Linked DNA regions of Homo sapiens: all the other regions are linked to region 2. Evidence: promoter capture Hi-C in 16 types of primary human blood cells and fetal thymus (Javierre and others, 2016). All regions are on one chromosome and are shown on one strand. The core of a region is centred on a gene start or on the middle of the fragment in contact, and the rest is flanking DNA. Distances in the headings are between cores, read along the strand shown.

Evidence for each region. The method cuts DNA at HindIII sites, captures the fragments that hold promoters and counts their contacts. A CHiCAGO score of 5 or more calls a contact.
Region 1: the fragment with the promoter of TCEA2 here is called in contact with the fragment with the promoter of PTK6 in region 2 in 6 of 17 cell types (endothelial precursors, activated CD4 T cells, total CD8 T cells and 3 more); the score reaches 10.1 in endothelial precursors.
Region 3: a contact is called between the fragment with the promoter of LKAAEAR1 here and the fragment with the promoter of PTK6 in region 2, in 7 of 17 cell types (M0 macrophages, endothelial precursors, fetal thymus and 4 more). The highest score is 10.5, in M0 macrophages.

What each region holds. Positions count from the first base shown.
Region 1 is chr20:64,061,908-64,064,611 of GRCh38, forward strand. TCEA2 (transcription elongation factor A2) reads left to right here and starts at 1,291. Exons shown (of 10, transcript NM_003195.6): 1 at 1,291-1,477. The coding sequence starts at 1,406. RefSeq lists enhancers at 672-801, 812-861 and a silencer at 1,192-1,551. The HindIII fragment of the contact is 9,862 bases long and covers 1-2,704 here.
Region 2 is chr20:63,535,934-63,538,633 of GRCh38, forward strand. PTK6 (protein tyrosine kinase 6) reads right to left here and starts at 1,443. Exons shown (of 8, transcript NM_005975.4): 1 at 1,152-1,443. The coding sequence starts at 1,381. It overlaps SRMS (src-related kinase lacking C-terminal regulatory tyrosine and N-terminal myristylation sites), which reads right to left. Exons shown (of 8, transcript NM_080823.4): 8 at 2,556-2,700. RefSeq lists an enhancer at 1,542-1,631 and silencers at 1,752-1,901, 2,232-2,501. The HindIII fragment of the contact is 2,955 bases long and covers 756-2,700 here.
Region 3 is chr20:64,083,003-64,085,722 of GRCh38, forward strand. It overlaps LKAAEAR1 (LKAAEAR motif containing 1), which reads right to left and starts at 1,396. Exons shown (of 3, transcript NM_001353425.2): 1 at 816-1,396; 2 at 581-703; 3 at 374-492. The coding sequence starts at 1,217. The coding sequence ends at 433. All of the region lies in intron 1 of OPRL1 (opioid related nociceptin receptor 1), which reads left to right. RefSeq lists silencers at 489-548, 729-808. The HindIII fragment of the contact is 5,360 bases long and covers 1-2,720 here.

The sequences.
Region 1 (2,704 bases), core at 41-2,540, 530 kb after region 2:
TTGTAGAGACGGGGTTTCACCATATTGGCCAGGCTGGTCTCGAACTCCTGACCTCAGGTGATCCACCCGCCTGGGCCTCCCAAAGCGCTGGGATTACAGGCATGAGCCACTATTGCCCGGCTAAGATGAGTCTCTTAACTGACCATATTTTCCTTTTCATTTTGGCTGCGGGGAAGCTCAGTTATATGTGATTAGTGCCACAGACAGCCCAAGAAATGCTCAGCCCATTCCACCTGCCACCTGGCCTCATAGTTCGTTGGCCTGAACTTGAATGACTACAGGCTCCTTGATCCACACCCTCCCCCAGGATTGTGCCCTCTCCAGGAAACCACCCAGCATCTGCATTACTGGGGAGCTGCCAGGCAGTGGTGGGGATGCTGGCCCTGCACCTGTCCCCGTCCTCAACCCTCCCTAGGCCTGGGCCATCTCTCTGGCTGCCTGCAGTCTGGCCCTACCTAGGGACCTCCAACAACAATGTCAATGAACACTAATTGTCATGCTCCATCCCCTCTCTGTTCTCAGGCATGTGATGTGAATCAGCTGACATCATCTTGACGGGAGCCCTGTGAGGCGGACACTTAACTCCAGTTTCACAGGTGGGGAGACTGAGACACAGTGGTCAACGTGCAGAGCCCAGAATCTGCTCCCTGGTAGCTGACTTTGCAGGCAGGGGCCTTGCCCACGCAGCCTCGGCAGAGGCCCCCGCACTTCGCGAACCCCAGCAATGGCCCCTTCCAGACGCCACGTCCAGCTACCGCGCGCTCACACCTGCAGGGCCCCACAAGAGGCCTCCCAGTGTGCGCGGGCCTCTTGAAGAAGTAACTCTACTCAGAAGCCCGAATGACCCAAACTGGGCTCTGGGAGGCTGGGGACGGCCTTCTAGGCCAAGTGGGGCGCGCGCAGGGCTCAGCGGGGCCCAAGAGAAGGGCTGAGGGCACTGGGTCCTGAGCCACCCACCGAAGGACGCCGCGGGACAGCAAGGCCCGAAGCAGGAGGAGAGAAGGGAGCAGATTCCTGGGCCTCCTGGGGCCCGGTCGCTCCGGGATGTCTGAGCTCTGGGAGGGGCGTGCCCGGGGCGCCTCCCTCGCGGGGTATTGTGGGATCACGAGTCACTGGCGACGGTGGGTCAGGACTACACTTCCCAGGAGGCTGTGCGCGCCGCGTGGCGCCTGGGAGTTGTGGTCCAGAGCGCGGGCGCGGCGGGCGCGGCAGGCGGGCGCGTGGACTACGCATCCTAGGATGCCGCGCGCGGCCGCGGGGCCGAGGGTTTGAACCGGGGGTCTGTCGTCCGCGGCGGGGCTGCGTCGGCTGCGGCGGGTGTGGGAGGTGGCGACGGCCGGGGCCGGGGTCCTGCCCGGCTGCGGAGGCGGGCGCGACGGGCGCGGGGGTCGCTGCTCCTGAGGCGATGATGGGCAAGGAAGAGGAGATTGCGCGGATCGCCCGGAGGCTGGACAAGATGGTGACCAAGAAGAGCGCGGTGAGGGGCGCGGGCCGCCAGGACCCCGGGAACCCCGCCCCGCCGAGACCCCGTCGAGCCCGCCGACCCCCGTTAGGGCCGGAAGACGACCTGAGGGGCAGGACGAGACCCCTCCCCGGCAGAGACTAACCGGGACGCAGGGGAGACCCCCACCCGTGGCCGAGACCCCTGCCCCGGGCCAGCCCTGCCGTTCACTCCCGCAACCCCGGCAGAGGCCGCGATCAGGCCTGGACCTTGTCCCGGGAGAGCCACCCGCTCTGGACTCAGACCCCTCCCTCGCCCGCAGTCACAGGCTCCGCACCCTTCCCTGTCCCTTAACTCCAGACCCCCAGCCTGGCCCGTCGACTCCTTCCTTGGCCCTGTCCCGCCTCTCGGAGCCCCCGGGGTGTTCGGGCCTCCTCTGCGGGCCGCGCCAGCCCCTTGCCTTCCTCCATCCCGGCCTGGGCATCCTCACAGGCCGAGCCCCGCCCCCCAACTCAGCCCTCTCCCACGCTCCGTCTCTTACAGCGTTTGTCACCCTCCGTCTCCCATAGCATTTGTCGCCGGCAACAGTTTGGAGTCTGAGGTTGGATCCCCTTTTCTTCTGGAGCTTCCGTGCCTCCCCTGCCTCTTCCCAGCCCTTGTCATCCTCCTTCACAGGCCAGCCAGATACCTGTCTTGCCTGTGGGCCCATTTTCTTCCCTGTCTGTCCCCACCCCACAAGAACCAGGTTTCTCTAATAAATTCTCTCCCTTCTTTAGCCAGGACTTAGCCCGCAGCAACTTGGGTTGTGGGTAGTTATGTGGACACCCTCCGAAAAGAGCCGGTGTGCTTATATAAGAGCCAGGAGGTCGGGCAAGCCTCCTCTGGGAGTGTCTGGGCGCTGGAGCCTCTGGCCGGCTCTGTTCACTGCGGCCTGGGCCTCTGTTGTCTTGCGGCCACAGCGAGACTTTGGAGGAGGCTGTGTGTGAGGACTTTGAAGGGGCCAGGTCAGTGGGGGTCCAGTTCCAGCGTCATGACCTTGGCAACCTCTGCACCCTCCCACAGAAGCATCTTTAGAGGATGCTGCCTGCCTCCTGGGGGGTGGGGAGGGGTCTGGCCGCAGGTCATTTGGAGCTCCTGGCTGGCTCAATAAACGTGACCTGTGCTTTCCCACCCAGACTGTGAACTCCTGGGGCAGGGCCAGCTGTGTGTCTGCCAGGCCAGCCCAGGGCGGTGAAGGTGGCTGAGTCATGGGCTTTGGGTGAT
Region 2 (2,700 bases), core at 193-2,692:
CCTCACCTGGCCTCCCGCACCCCCCTCACCTGGCCTCCCGCCCCCCCCTCACCTGGCCTCCCGCCCCCTCCTCACCTGGCCTCCCGCCCCCTCCTCTCCTGGCCTCCCGCCCCCTCCTCTCCTGGCCTCCCGTCCCCTCCTCTCCTGGTCTCCCGCCCCCCCCACCTGGCCTCCCGCCCCCCCTCACCTGGCCTCCAGCCCCCCCCACCTAGCCTCCCGCTCCCCCCCCCACCTGGCCTCCCACCCCCTCCTCACCTGGCCTCCTCCCCACTTCTCACCTGGGCGAGTTCTCAGGACTCAGGGTCTTTGCACCTGGGAGCTGACCAGCCTCCGGCCAGACCCCACCCCTGCACCCCTGCTCACTAACGAGGTCGTGGGTCTGCGCGTGACCCTGCTAACGAGGTCGTGGGTCTGCACGTAATAGAGGGGTCTCCACCATGGGCCCCTGCCCGACGGCCTCTTTACAGCCTCCCCTGCTTGTTGCTTGGGTCCCCCGGGAGCTAACCCTACACAGCCTGTGACTCACGCACACACACAGTGGGTGCCCAATCACTGATGAGAAACGCGGGATCTCAGGAGCGTGACCCTCCTCAGCCTGAGCTCCGGGCAGCTGTGGAAGCCAGGGCCAGGCCACACCAGCTGCTGTCTGGTTCCCCGCAGGGCACAGCAGGCAGGAAGTTTGCCCGGCAGCCGGCCCGCTCCCCTAACTAGGTCGTGTGTCTGGTTCCGGCACTTTGGAAACTGGGCAAGCTTCAAGCTTCGTTTCCCCCAAAGGCCCTGGAACGCTCCGACAGACCTTGTCACTGGCCACCGGGCCCCAGAAGTCCACCCTGGACCCTCTGTCCTCCCTGGGTCCCGGCAATGCAGCGTCCACCCCCGAGCTGTGACAAGGATGAGCCCAAGGCAGGGGCCGTGCCCTCTGACCCCCGTGCTCCAACTCCCGCAGGGACAGTCCTGGGCACTCCTGGGCGCCAGCGCATGGGGCCTGCAGGGAGGATCAAGCGGGATGCCCAGCCTGGACTTTGGGGTGCAGGAAGATGGAACCGGGGTCCCCACCTTCTTGGGCCTCCCTGAGCAGCCCAGAGCCCTGTCCCTCCCCTGTGCCTAGAGGGTGGCCTGTGCCAAAGCTCCCAGCAGCCTAGGACACGCACGGTTCCGACTCCACCGTCTCCCTCTCGGCCAGGTAGTTGTGGGGCACATAGCCCTGGGCCACGGCCCCACCCGCCTCGTCCAGCAGCGTGGCCCACCACCACTGCTCCTCCTTCCTGGCCACGTGGAAGACGTCCCCCGCGCGGAAGCTCAGCTCCTCGTCCGTCCGGGACTTGAAGTCCCAGAGGCCCACATACTTGGGGCCCAGGTGAGCCTGGTCCCGGGACACCATGGCGGGCGGGCGCAGCGGCAGGACCAGGCTGTGGCCCAGCTGGAGCACCCAGAGCTGGGCGTGGCAGGCGGGCCGTCCCACTTCCTCATGACAGGCCGGGAAGCAGCCACACCCAGCACCCACAGGCGCTCCAGAGCACCCCGGCTCCTCCTGAGGGCCCAGCCGGCCCCACAAGTCCTCAGGCCCACTGGGGCCCATCTGAGCACTTAGCGCCCGCACTATGGGAACCCACTGGGCAAGCACCGCCAGGGCCGGCCTGAGCGCAGGAGAGGGGGAGGAGGACCTCCCGGTTGGGGCTTCTTGGGGGTCCAACTTATGGACACTCAGGCACTCAGGGAAGCCAACGGCCCTCTGGGAACAAGCCTCGCAGCCTGAGGGCAGGAAGGTGAGGGCTGCAGGCGCTGCCTTCCCAACCCTCAGAGCTGCGGGGGCACAGGTGGGGGCCGCCTCTCTCCCCGCTTCCGGCAGCTTCCCCTCCACCCGTCGGTGCCCTCACCCAGCCCCAGACTCCACCCCTGAGCACAGGGCCCAATGTCAGGAGCTGCTGTGGGCAGGCGTCCTGAGAGCGGCCTCATGGGCAGGCCCGCCCTCGGGTAAGGGCCAAGCAGGGAAGAGGGAGTGGAATCAGGGCAGCGACAGCTGTGTGGGTCGGCCCGGAGGACTTCCCGGAAGAGGAGGGCCCGAGGGTTTTGGGGGATCCCCGGGGAGGCAGAGCCAGGGGCACCCACGGCTGAAGAAACGGGCACTGCCTTCCTCCACACGGACGCCAGGGGGCAGGCAAGGACCGTGAGTGCGGCCTGGAAGCGCCCATGGCGCTGGGGCCCAAGGCCACAGGTCCCTCCCAGGCAGCCCCTCCCGCCTCCAGCCTCTGCCTCCTCCTGTCCAGCCCGCAGGACCCCTGCCCCCTTCCAGCTGGCCTCCCTTCTCCCGACTCATGCCTGAGTGAGCCCTGCCGTGACCCCCACCTGCACCCGACGGCCGCCTGCCCCCCAGCCCCTGAGACTCGGGACACCCCCTCCCTGGAGGCCCCTCCCCGCCCCACCCTCCCACTGACCCTACTGTGTCCACCCGGGAGCTCCAACCCAGGGACCTGGACTGGCAGCCACAAGGGGGCAGGAAGGGGCGGGAAGGGAAATTCAAAGTCTGCAAGGGGTGGTAAGGAAAGTCCCTAAACTGCGTATTTCAACTTTTATTTTTATTGCAAAGAGAAATAATGGCACCTTCCACTCATTGTTTTGAGATTAAGAACAATAATCTGGATTATTTAACAGGCTCATAGATTTCTGGGCAGCCCAGCTCAGCGCTGACCAAGGTGGGGA
Region 3 (2,720 bases), core at 146-2,645, 550 kb after region 2:
CTGCCCACAGCACTGCCCTCTCCCTGGCCCCCTGGTGGGATGACTCGCACTCGAGACCACTGCAGCCTGAGGCTACCCTTACATCTGGGGGTGACTTCTGCTGAAACAGGCTCTTTCTCCGTCCTCCCCAAGACTGGGGGCCTCCCATAGACCCACAGAACGCCAGGTTGCCAGTGGGGGGCAGATCGGGATTAGGGGTAGGCGTGTCCCTGACCTGTTACTTTCACACCCACCCACTTGCGTCTCCCCACTTTTTTGGGAGAGGCCCCACTCTCTGTACCCTGATGTCTGTGAGGTGCATGGGAGAGGCAGCGTCCATACTCCCCGCTTCCCTCGGGGTCCTGGGGAGTGGCAGCAAAAAGACCAGCGAGCCTTCGGAGAATTATAACTTTATGTGGGAGGCTGGGGCGCGTCGCACACTCTCAGTCGCCGTCACCGCGGGAAGATGGTGCCATCCACGTTCTCCTCCAGGATGGTCTCCACGCGCCTCCGCTGCCGGGGAGAGAGGCTGGGGTCCGGCGTGTGCGGAGGCGGGCAGGGCCCCTCCCCTTTCCCCGCCCCTACCGGGGCTTGTCTGCACCTCTTGGCGGTCCAGGGGGTCCGGGATCCGCGCGGGCTTCAGCTGCGGCGGCAGGAACAGCTCCAGCCGGATGGCGGCGCGCGCGGACTTCTGCCGCTGGATGAGCAGCGCGATCTCCTCGGCCTGCGGGGCCCGGGTAGCTGAGCGCGCGCCGAGCCCCGCCCCGCCCCGCCCCGGCCGGCTCCGCTCAACGCTCCCGGTGCGCCCCCTCTGCCCTCCGACCCCCTCGCCTCACCCGCATGCGGGTGTAGCGCAGCCGCAGGGCGCGGACTCGCCCGCGGGCCTCCGCTGCCTTGAGGACGCCGAGGAGCCGGTTCTGGCGCTCGGCGGGCAGCTCGAGCGACTGCGTCCACGGGCGCGGGTCGGGCATGCGGTACCCCGGTTCCACCGACCCGCACGGGAAGGTGGAGGCCGCCGCGCCCACGTCCTCCAGCAGGTCGCCGAAGAGCAGATGGCGGTGGCGCTGCGCAGGGAGCATGGCCGCCAGTCCCTGCGGCGTCAGGGCCCAGCCCGGCTTGGGGGGCTCTGTCGCGGGCGCCCCCTTGGCACGCTCCTCACCCTGCGCCGTGCCTGGCGCGCTCTTCCCGCTTCGCTCCCGCGGGCCCTTGCGCCCGCCCTCCTTCGCTGGCGGCGGCATCCTCCCGCCCTGCGGAGGGAGGAGGGCGTCCCGTCGGTGCCGGGGCTGGCACCGGGCCCTGCCCGCCCCTCGGCAGGGCCCCAACGTGCGCCCCAGCTCCCGCCCGCTGGGCTCTCCGCAGTCGGTTTTGAGTTCCGCACCCCCAGCCTCTGAGCTTTGCCCAGGCGCTCTCCCTCTCCCAAGCGCACGTCCCCAGCAGCTCTGCCATCGGCTGATCCTGCTCAGTCCTGCAGTCAACTAGGACTTTCTGATCAACTCAGTTGTAGGAAATATCTTTCCTACCCGATGGACTGTTCTGTTTGAATTGAGAAAATGCTGAGACCCCACTGGGTTGATCTCAGGCCCTGCCACATGGAGAGCTCTAGGTGACGCCTGGGGGACCTTCGTTGTGCCCCTATGTCTGCGGTCCCCGACAGTCAGGGTCTCCCACCAGACAGCTCGCTCTTGCCCTTCGAGGCCTAGATGGTTGTGGGGAGCAGAGCCTAGAGGGCAGGTGACAGAGGAGGGAGGGTCCAAAAGCCCAGCTGGCTCCTCCCTTCCCGGCCCCAGCCTACAGCTGCCACCTTGTCCAGCCAGGGCTGGGCTCGCTGTGCCAGAGGCAGAGCCACGGCCAGCCCCAGCGGCGGCTAACGCCCCCGCCCCTCCTTAGCTCCTGCAGCCGAGGCCCAGCCCCCACCTCTTGGTCCCTACACCCCCTGCTTGCTGCCTTCTCTGGTCGGAAGAACCTCCGCCGTAGCCCAGACTCTTTGGGCTTGTTGACGCGGTTGCCCAGCAACCGGGAGTCCTGCCCCTCCCTCGACCAGGTGGGGCGGGTCGTGGCGGGGGGCAGGGTCCCCTCCGGAGGGCCCTGGGTTAGAGTCTGGGCGTGGACGCGCCCCTCATAGGGGTCATTGGGGCATAGAGGCATAGAGCCGGCTTCTCCAGCTTGGGTGAGCGTCCTTTCCAGGCGGCCGCAGACGCGCCATCCTAGGGGTTGTGGGCCCAGGTTCCTGGCTTGAGGGGTCTTTGGGGTTAGTTTTGTGGGTGGGGCCCTCGGCTATGAGGAGACCTTTGTGGTTAAGGCCCATTCCCTTCTGATGGCCAGGGGGCTCTGGCCCCAGCCACTGGTGTTCACAGAAAGGGATAATGGGGCAGAACTCAGGACCCCTCACCTCTTCTAGGGCAAGTTTGGGGTCTCAGGGGTCCTGGTGTCCCCAGGACTAGAGCTGGGTTTTGCTGAACACTGTGTCTTGGGATCTTGGGTCCTAGATACTAGATTTTGGAAATCTATTTGTGCATTCCTTTGTTTTGTAACTAATTCTCAATTAACTACTTAATCATTTTATAATTTCTTCAGGCACTCATAAGTGTGTTCTAGAATTTCCTAATTCACGTGCTTATTCCACAGTTTAAATTAGGCAAAAATTAGTGCAAAAAGTCCAATCTGTTACGTATCTATTACTTCCACGAGATGTCTGTACTCTCTCTATATTCACAGACCTGCCGCTGGGACACCTTGCTGGG